Linked DNA regions of Homo sapiens: regions 1 and 2 are each linked to region 3. The links are contacts of gene promoters, found by promoter capture Hi-C in blood cells and fetal thymus (Javierre and others, 2016). All regions are on one chromosome and are shown on one strand. The core of a region is centred on a gene start or on the middle of the fragment in contact, and the rest is flanking DNA. Distances in the headings are between cores, read along the strand shown.

Evidence for each region. The method cuts DNA at HindIII sites, captures the fragments that hold promoters and counts their contacts. A CHiCAGO score of 5 or more calls a contact.
Region 1: a contact is called between the fragment with the promoter of DCANP1 here and the fragment with the promoter of SLC25A48 in region 3, in 1 of 17 cell types (megakaryocytes). The highest score is 9.6, in megakaryocytes.
Region 2: the fragment with the promoter of NEUROG1 here is called in contact with the fragment with the promoter of SLC25A48 in region 3 in 4 of 17 cell types (M1 macrophages, megakaryocytes, M0 macrophages and 1 more); the score reaches 8.2 in M1 macrophages.

The regions. Positions count from the first base shown.
Region 1 is chr5:135,445,973-135,449,441 of GRCh38, reverse strand. It overlaps DCANP1 (dendritic cell associated nuclear protein 1), which reads left to right and starts at 2,094. Exons shown (of 1, transcript NM_130848.3): 1 at 2,094-3,469. The coding sequence starts at 2,334. The coding sequence ends at 3,068. It overlaps TIFAB (TIFA inhibitor), which reads left to right. Exons shown (of 2, transcript NM_001099221.2): 2 at 1-3,469. RefSeq lists an enhancer at 1-225. The HindIII fragment of the contact is 6,394 bases long and covers 1,368-3,469 here.
Region 2 is chr5:135,534,495-135,537,849 of GRCh38, reverse strand. It overlaps NEUROG1 (neurogenin 1), which reads left to right and starts at 1,886. Exons shown (of 1, transcript NM_006161.3): 1 at 1,886-3,355. The coding sequence starts at 2,160. The coding sequence ends at 2,873. RefSeq lists an enhancer at 1,384-1,899 and a silencer at 2,017-2,311. The HindIII fragment of the contact is 9,722 bases long and covers 1-3,355 here.
Region 3 is chr5:135,833,270-135,836,383 of GRCh38, reverse strand. It overlaps SLC25A48 (solute carrier family 25 member 48), which reads right to left and starts at 1,721. Exons shown (of 8, transcript NM_001349336.2): 1 at 1,491-1,721. The coding sequence starts at 1,536. RefSeq lists an enhancer at 2,255-2,756. The HindIII fragment of the contact is 1,059 bases long and covers 1,531-2,589 here.

The DNA.
Region 1 (3,469 bases), core at 845-3,344, 390 kb after region 3:
GCCTGGGGTTTCTCCACGGCCCTTCCCAGACTTGGGACAGCCCTCTCCAGCCAAGACCTGGAGGAGGAACAGAAATACAGCTCCAGAGGGAACCCCCAGACAGTGCACTCTGCTAGCCCTGCCACTAGAGCAAGCCTTTGCTAGATGAAACAGGATTTGAAATACTTGAGCTGCATCATGCAAGGTTGACAAGCAAAACCCACTGGCTGCCTTGCTCATAATGAACCAATTCTGCAAACACCGAACAAACAGCCCAGGGGGGAGAAGCACCCTCTGTGGCCAGAGCTATGCAATGTAATGGGAACATCATATACTTTTAGAGGCCCTGAGGGGTTCTGGGGAGCCTCTCTCAGCATTTCCACACATTTCTCCCTGTTGTCTGACTAGGAGTTACTTTATGTGGTTCATTTTGTGTGCTGCTTAAGAGCAGGAGTTTGAGGTTGCACCAGGAATGCGTGGACACATGTAACAATTACATTTGTGGTAGCTTGGGGTTACCTTCAGCTTTCAAATACCCACAGGCACGCGGGGCTTAGGAAAGCCTGAGTGTAATAAACTGCAAGTATTTCATTAAGCTGGCATACCCAATAGGATTCCCTGATCCCCAGATGGGCCACATGCACGCCACGCTGTCATGCAGACGTGGGGGTGGGAAATATAGACGAGGTGTAAGAGGAAATTGGAAAGGTGGGACTCACATTTCTGGAAAGGATGCAGGCAGGGCTCAGGGTTTCCTGAGGATGGGAGCTGGGAGCTGGGCCTGCCTGGAAATTCATTGTCCCCCTTATCATCCTCATCCTCACACTCCGCATTCTCTGTCACTTCTGGATCAAGGCCTTGGTTGACTTGAGGGCAAGGTCTTTAGGGAATGAGGGGATGGGGTGGGGGTTTGTGTAAGAACTCAGCCCAGCAGTTATTTCGCTCAGGGTGAGTCACACACCAATGGGGGTGGGGGAATTCCTTCCAAATAAGGGACTCGTTAGGAGCCAGGTACGCCAAGGGCAGGAGGATTTTCTCGGTGAACAAGGGCAGCAGCTATTTGCCACGCCATGCTGAGAAGGGGAGAGTGTGGTTTAGAAACAACGTTCACTAGTGTGATGCAGGGAGGGATCTACATGGTCACCATGATCCCAGACCCCACTCTCCAGGGAATCTGAGGCACCAAGGGCACAGCCCTGTTCCCCTGGCTGACTCGAATCTCTGGGTCTGTAGCTGTCAACAATTTCTGTTTTCTGCCCAAAAGGATGATCGTTTTGCACCCAGGGCAAGCTACAAGGAGGTCCAACTTCACTCACAGGCCCTGAGCATCTTCTCCATCAGGAAAACAGAGGTGGGCAAGACCCAGGCTTGCCCTGGTGTGGGAAGCTTCCTCTCCAATAGGGATGAAGCAAAAACACTCAGATCACAGCCACAAGGCAGGGAGAGCAGGGCTGCTAGGAAGGGGCTCTCTGATGCTGTGAATGACCCCTTGGGACCCCCAAAGCAGTTCCTCATTCATTCAGCAAACCTTCACCAAGCACCCACCTTGTGCCAGATCTGTGCAAAGCCACGGAACTGAACCAGAAGTGAATAAGGCAAACTCCCTCAGGGAGTTTACCTTGCACTCAGGAAAGTCAAGCATTCAGGAGTGCATTACTTATTTGATCACTACTATGATTAGTGCTATAGTCATTGTATTTTTCTCTCTCCTCCAGCTGGGCTCACATTCTCTTGTTAAGTGGCCTTGCCTGTTGAGTGCCTACCATGTGCTTAGCACTCTGCTAGGTGCTGTGTGTATTAACTGCACTTAACAGATAAGGAAACTGAGACTTGGAAAGGTTACATATCTTGCCCAACATCACACCATCAGTAGCTATGCGATTTGGGCAAGTGATTTAGTCTGCTCTTGCCTCTATTTCTCCCGCTGGAAAATGGGTAAGATAATAGTACTACCTGCTAGAGTTACGAGGGTCTTAGAAGGTGACACCTGTAAAGCATTCAATCAGTGCCCAGCACACACTTAATAAGGGTTAGCTACTATCATGAGACCTGAGAGAGGAGGGCTCACCATCCACACGGAGCTAAGGAAGACTCACACCCCAGTAAGCTGGCTCCAGAACCCAAGGGCTTACCTGTGCTCTGTGATTCCCCAACTAGGGATTTAGTTGTAGCCACGGACCTGGTAGGCAACAGGGAGGGGATTTTAATCTGCTCCTTGCATCAGAAGGTCCAATAGGCAGGGTTAGTATAATGGGAGATGCCCTGGTAGGGCTGGCAAGGAGAAGAAGCCACATGTATTTTGGTCTGATGAAAAGCAGCAGTGATCTGTCACTGACCAAAATGGTCCCCCAACTATGCATTACGGAGCAGCAACCCACATACAGAACTCGAGAAGCCACGGCCTGGAGACTGTACCTGGACACCAAAGACTGGAGAGAGGAGCTGGTGGGGAAACCCCAGAGTTCCCAGGGTGCCACTCCCCAGCTCCACCAGAGAACTTTGGGAATGAGCTGCTGCCCCTGAGTGCCCCTCTCCAGGGCCTCAGTGAGGGTCTCTACCCTCCAGGGAGGAACAAAACCTTGCCAGCTGGGGTCCTGCGAGAGGGGGCAGTTCAATTCCTCCACAGGGGACTCTGCAACTCCAATCTTTCGAGTGAAGCATCTGCGAGGCCCTCAGGGACCCAGGATGAACTGCATAGCAGCAGAAGGAAGACAGGCCAGACCAGGCGGGAGGGAGCCCGGAAACATCTGGTTTGTAGTTTCAGACTCTACCCGTTCACAGTTCACACAGTCTCACCGGGAAACTCACACCTTGCCCTGTACCAAGTTTTTAAGGCAGTTAAGCTCTGCCCATCCGAGACTTCATTTTTCTTGAGTAGAAAATCACTGAAATCATCAGATCCATGGCACCCACCTTCACTTTCTCCTAACAGCTGGAACCGTCAGGCTGGCTTCAGGGCCTGGTCTTCGCACTTGATATCACTATCCCTCACCTGCTCAGACAGCCAGAGCAGGCGGGTGAGTTCCTCCCAACAACCTCCACTGCATTCTCTCAGCTCCCACCGCAGGGCAGCCCACGTGCCTGAGTGAACATGTGTGCGTGTGCACACACGCAAGTATGCACAGACATACACTAAACACGAACATACAGTGCACATGAACGCTGCTCCCAGCTAGGGCCCTCTGGTCAGACTGCTGCCTGGGTTAGAATTCTTGTCCCCACCCCCACTTACTATAGTTCTGTGATCCTGGACAAGTAACTGAATCTCTCCGTGCCACAGTTTCTTCTTGTAGAAAACGGGAAAGTTCACAGTACTTACCTCCTTAGAGTCATTGTGAAGGTCAGTTTGAGGCATCACAAATTTAAGGCACCCAGACATAAGGGTCAACAGGGTTAGCTATCACTGTCCAGTTTGGTGGGAGGAACTGAATGCATGTAGGCACATGGACCCAGTCTACACTCAGGCACAAAAGGAGCTACATTAGTTACA
Region 2 (3,355 bases), core at 637-3,136, 300 kb after region 3:
CTGGCCTCTTGAACTGTAAGAGAATGAACTTCTGTTGCCTTAAACCCCCTAGTTTGTGGAATTTTGTTGTGGCAGTCCAAAGAAAGGAAGCTGACACAGGGAGAGAAACAGAGGTGGGGGGCAGAGAGAGGACCCTTGGGCTCCTGCTGGTTTACACAAGTCCTCGAAGCCCTTGAGTTCTTGAGAAGCCCCCGTATCCATCCAACAACTGCCCTTTCCTGAGTGAGCTGGTCGAAGCCACTTTCTGTGACTTCTAATAAATCTCGAGCCCTTATATATGACTGTGTCCTAGCCTTCCACTGAGATCAGGGGTACCTGCAGGGTGCAGTCGGGGAAGGGGACAGCTGGGCAGAGTCCCCTGAGCCAGAAGGCAAGCGCTGGTCAGTGAGTCGAGGTGGGAACTGCCACTACACAGCCCCCTTTCTCAAAGGGGCCAATCCCCCCCCAACCCAAAGAGTCAGCTAGGCTCCCATGGCAGCAGGCCAGGCATCCGGCCTGAGGCTACCACTTGGATATCAGGTGGGGGGCAGGCACTTTGCTGAAAGCTGCTCATTTTGTTTTTAATACCCTCATCCTATAATCGAGTGCTGTTCCTTACTATTTATCCTCCAAGTACAAAGTTGGGTGATGTCTGGGCCCCTGTGGCTCCTGGGTGAGTGTAGGTGACAAGAGAAAAGTAACTCCTGACATGCAGAGGGAAGACCTGCTGGAATAGGCGAGTTTAAGACACCGAAGGCGGGAGGGGGTTTGGAGGAAAGGGGTTCCACTGTCACCTGCTGCCCTCCAGGGGCCAGCTCTCTCTCGGGCCAGGGGAGCTGGATCCCCTGGCTGGCTCACCCTGAAGAGGGCCACAGAGGCTGCAAGCAGGGCTCCAAGAGACGGTGTGCAACGGATTTCTCCGGGCATGGGGCAGGCAAGGTTTCAGGAACGCCAAAGAAAAGGAAATTCTCATATTAATAATTATATTCTCATATTATTATTTATATAAATTCTCATATTATTAATTCTTATTAAGAATCTTGAGGTGACTTGTGGGCAGAGGTGCGGAGGAGGGTGGAGAAGGGAAGGGAAAGAAGGGAAGGGTGAGACCAAGACTCAAGGCAACCTGGGAAATCACCCGATCCTCTTTTCCACTCTCCTCTTCGCACTCCCCAGATGAAGGTCAGATTCTTTCCCGTTTCTTCATCAGCCTGAACGGAGCAGCGACACTTATCCTTGCCCTGCGCCCTGTGCCTCTGGCATGGCCACTCTCCAGTCTATTTGAAAATGATTTTCACCCTGTTCAGCGGATGCTGCACATTTAGTGTTCCACAAACATTATATCTGATCATCCTCCACAGGGTAAACTTTTGTCTCATCTTACAGGTGGGGAAAGCAATGCTCAGGGAAGTTAAATTACTCGTCCAAAGTCACGCGACCACTAAGCAGCTGGAGAGGGGATGCGAACCCAAACTCCAAGTACCCTCCAGGTTTCCGCAACTCACTGGGCGGCTCACACTTTCGCGCTCGCGCCCCGCCTCCCCGTCCCACCCCAGCGAGGGGCGCCCAGCCCGCCCCAAGAGGAGCGTGCCTCGGCCGCTAATCGCCCGCCGACCCCGCCTCTGTTTCACTGCCTGGAGACGCCCTGGCCAGCTTAGCCCGAGCCGACTCCCGGGGCCGCGCGACGCCGCCGATTGGCCGGCGGTAATTACGGGCACACTCCGGGTTGGGGGAGGGGCGATGGCGGCCTCCCGCGAGCATAAATTATGCAAATACCCGGGCGCTGCACGGGGATGACCTGCCGCCTCGCTCCATTCACCCGGGCTGCCGCGGGGGCGGAGGTGGCAAGGGAGGGGGGCGCCCATTGTTGCGCCGGGTACTTAAGGGGTCCTGAGGCCAGTCGTGTGCCACACTCGGTGCTCACACGAGCTGATCTGATCGCCGGCGACATCACTCAGGAGACCGGCCGGGCGCGTGGCCCCTGCAGGCGAGGCGAGGAGGCCAGGCCAAGTTCTCCGTGCGCCCCTGCACCCTTCCAGGCTCTCGCACCCGCAACTGGCACAGAGTAACAACCCCAGGCTGTTGGGAACGTAAGTGCGCCCTGGCGGCTCTGCCCTCAGTCCGGGCTGCAGCGCTCTGAGCGCCTTTCTATCTGTCCGTCGGTCCTGCACAGCGCAACGATGCCAGCCCGCCTTGAGACCTGCATCTCCGACCTCGACTGCGCCAGCAGCAGCGGCAGTGACCTATCCGGCTTCCTCACCGACGAGGAAGACTGTGCCAGACTCCAACAGGCAGCCTCCGCTTCGGGGCCGCCCGCGCCGGCCCGCAGGGGCGCGCCCAATATCTCCCGGGCGTCTGAGGTTCCAGGGGCACAGGACGACGAGCAGGAGAGGCGGCGGCGCCGCGGCCGGACGCGGGTCCGCTCCGAGGCGCTGCTGCACTCGCTGCGCAGGAGCCGGCGCGTCAAGGCCAACGATCGCGAGCGCAACCGCATGCACAACTTGAACGCGGCCCTGGACGCACTGCGCAGCGTGCTGCCCTCGTTCCCCGACGACACCAAGCTCACCAAAATCGAGACGCTGCGCTTCGCCTACAACTACATCTGGGCTCTGGCCGAGACACTGCGCCTGGCGGATCAAGGGCTGCCCGGAGGCGGTGCCCGGGAGCGCCTCCTGCCGCCGCAGTGCGTCCCCTGCCTGCCCGGTCCCCCAAGCCCCGCCAGCGACGCGGAGTCCTGGGGCTCAGGTGCCGCCGCCGCCTCCCCGCTCTCTGACCCCAGTAGCCCAGCCGCCTCCGAAGACTTCACCTACCGCCCCGGCGACCCTGTTTTCTCCTTCCCAAGCCTGCCCAAAGACTTGCTCCACACAACGCCCTGTTTCATTCCTTACCACTAGGCCCTTTGTAGACACTGTTACTTTCCCCCTCCCCTAGTCAGCAGGCAATAGATGGGGCCCCAGCTGCCGCCTCGGGACCCCCTCTCCAGGCGGAGGGAGGAAGCGGGAGCTTTAAAGCAGTCGGGGATACCTGAGCCGCTTGTTAGGTCGCCGCACCCTCGCGGCGGATGTCTCTTGGTCTGTTTCTCCGGCCCTCAGCCCAGCGCCCCTCCTGCCCGCCCCTAGACGGCCTTTCCTTTTGCACTTTCTGAACTCCACAAAACCTCCTTTGTGACTGGCTCAGAACTGACCCCAGCCACCACTTCAGTGTGATTTAGAAAAGGGACAGATCAGCCCCTGAAGACGAGGTGAAAAGTCAATTTTACAATTTGTAGAACTCTAATGAAGAAAAACGAGCATGAAAATTCGGTTTGAGCCGGCTGACAATACAATGAAAAGGCTTAAAAAGCAGAGACAAGGAGTGGGCTTCATGCATTATGGAT
Region 3 (3,114 bases), core at 472-2,971:
TTCATGGAAGCCAAAAAAAAAAAAAGCCATGTTATTAGTTTGGTGCAAAAGTAATTGCGATTTTTGCCATTACTTTCAATAACATCACCAAAGTAAGGACCAGAATAAAGCACAAAAATCCCCTACTTGCTGTGAGTCGGGGAGGGTTCACATGTTATCACGTTTGGGGATGGGGAGGGGTATCAGAGTCTTGGAACTACTCTGACTCAGCCCTACCTTCCAGGGCATTTTTCAAACCAAGCCATTTGCATCCCTACCGAAGGTGGTCTGCTTATTTAAGGGGCAGCCCACGGAAGTGTCTCCTCTCTCTGCCTGCCCCGCTGAATGGTGGAATAATTGTCCAGTCAAAAAGGACCTGGATATGCCCAGCGGGCCTCAGGCTGCAGCCCCCTAACTGGGAAAGTTAGGAGAGGCGGGTCTCAGCCCCACCCAAGGGCATCTGTGCCAACAGACTTACTCAAGGTGAAAGGAGCCACCTCTGCTCAGGAAGGTGTGAAGCAGGGCCCTGCAGCCACCGGTCTCGGGAGAGAGGTGGTCTCCTGCTAGGTAGGAGGGGAGGAGTTGGGATCCAATCTGGTTTGTTGTTCTTTTCATCTTATTTTTTCACCCCTTTGGTGAGGGGCTACATTTGCCAACATCCCTTTTAGGATAACCCTTTTAGATGGGTCCAAAGAAAGACTTTTTTTTTTTTTTTTTTTTTTTTTTACAATTAGCAAAGTCCCTCAAACTTCCCCCTTTCCTAATAGCTGAGAAAAGAGGGATAGACCAATTGGAAAGAAAAATGGAGAAGCAAGGAAATGAATGCAACTCTCGCCCAGGCAACCCATCCCAGGCCCAGTAAAAGAGTGGCTTCGGGAGCTGTGGCGAAGGGATCAGCAGACCCAACAGTGCCCGGAGAAGGGGCCTTGGAGGTAGGCGATGGCTGACGGTTGGCGGCGGCTGAAGGCAATAAGTGCTCCTCGCAGCCTGGCAATGGGCACCTGCAGCCGGCGCTCCGCTCCCTGCTGTGAGAGCTCTGCTCCCTCCAGTCGGGACGCCCCGTTGGGCCGGCCTAATCTCGAAGCCTGGCTCCCACCACCCTGCGCCCCGGGATCAGCAGCCAAGCGCTACCCTCATACATAAGTTCCCGCGAGCCACGTCCGCAATTCAGGTGTGCACCAGGTCACTGAAGGGTGTGTGCGCCGCCAGGAGCCTCCATTGGCTGTGGGCTTTGACGAGCTGTTTAATCATTACCTCATCAAGTCCCACGGATCCTAACTTAATGAGCAAATCAGAAGCTCAGCCCGAAACGCTGTGAAGCTCTCAGAATTTAGCCCTGGCAACTGCAAGACCACCAGGGGGATCTCGGGGCCGGGCACTCCCCAAAGCAGGCTGCGCGCACAACGGGGAGCGGGATGGCAGCGCACAGAGGCAAAGTTTCCTCAGAGCATAGAGGCAAACTCCGCCAGGCTCGCTCTCTCTGACCGGGGGTCCCCGGTAAGCACACTCACCTCCGATCCAGCCCGCCGCAAAGTCTTCCAGCTGGAAGCTTCCCATGGCCGGCGCTCGGTCTCGCCCTCCCGGAGCCGGGGCAGTGCCCACTTAGAGTCAGTGGGGCATGGCCCGCGGGCGCGAGCGCGCCGCAAGACCGAAGTCGGAGTCTCGAGCACGCCGCAGGTCCTACTCCAAACCCAGTCCCCCAGTCACCGGCTGCGCGGGCTGCCGCGCTCACCTCTCCAAGTGCCGGAGGGCGGCTGACATCACGCCCCCAGTGGACCTTAAAGGCACAGCACTCTGGGTGGATAAGGGTGCGCTCCGCGCGGCTCATCCCAGACACAAAGAGGCAAGGGTCATCAAGTGAAATTCTCTTAGTCCTCCCTTCTCCGGGTTATCCTCTTCCTTGCCAACTTCAGAGCCTCAGCGCCTTTGAACTGAAAGTGCCAGCCGCCCATCCAGAGACGGCAATGCGCGTATCTCCCTGTACTGTGCTGTGCTGACAATGCTGATTCCAATCAGCTGTGGACTCTCTCCCATCCCAACTCTGGGCAGTGATGCCTTTTTGTTCATCTCAGCCATGTCCCACTCAGTACCCCGTGCCTAGAGCAGGCACCTGGTGGTTCAGGGTCATGTCTAACTTTCAGCTACAGCTCTCTAGGGGCCCAGCTCCCTGCCTGGCCCTGGCTCACCCTACACTGTCCGCCCTGGGCCAACAGAAGGCAGAGGTGGTGCTCTGTACCTCAAACTCCCTCTCTGTAGGCAGACCCTACATTCAGCCAGGCCCCAGGCCAGGGGTCCGTGCTCACTGGAGAAGTGGCCTGCTGTGCGGAGAGGCTTTTGATTACAATGAGAGTGTCTTTCCTCCCTTCCTAAGAAGACTCGAAGCCCCCCAGCGTTCTGCTAGTTTCCAGCAGGGACTCAGCTGTGGGTCTCAGCCAAGACACCCCAAGGTTGACAAGAATGGTGAAGGGTATGGTCAGGAGGAAGGGGCCTCTGCTGGGCCTGCTCTTGTCCCACTGGGCATATTCATGTCACGTCATCCAGGTTAATATGAAGCGACAGCCAGCCAGACCTCCTTCTTCCAAAGCAAGACAGAGCCTGACCACCGAAGCTTGATCCTACAAAGGCCTGTCCACTGAGGAGTGGGGACTTGGAGGTGAAGGGACCTTCCTGCAGCATCACTCCCTCCCCTGCCCCGGCACACAGAGAGTGGACCTGTATCGGGAGAGGACAGCCCGGGATGGAGTCGCCGGCCTGGCTAGGGAAGTATTGCAAAGTTCCAGGGAGGAGTGGAAGCATCACACCCCATCCCGGCACCTCAACTTCCTGCTGCTTATGGTGACCCACTCAGTCTTGAGGCTTCAGAGTTGCCATCAGCATCAACCCCAAGCTGTGCCCTGTCATGCCCGGGATATATGCCTAGGGCTGCTATGAGAAATGCAGGTCTCTGAAGAGTGGCCTTTTACTGAGTTCACCATTGGAATGCATCCACAAGTGGAAAGCCTGACAATTCTCAAAACCCACTCCTCTGGAAGACCACCTAAGGGGTGCCAGGCAGTTTGTCATCCCCTCAGTCCTGTGTCAGCACCAATTGAGGAGGTCTTACGTTGGCAGGCAGTGTCCCTGGCAGCCCAGGAT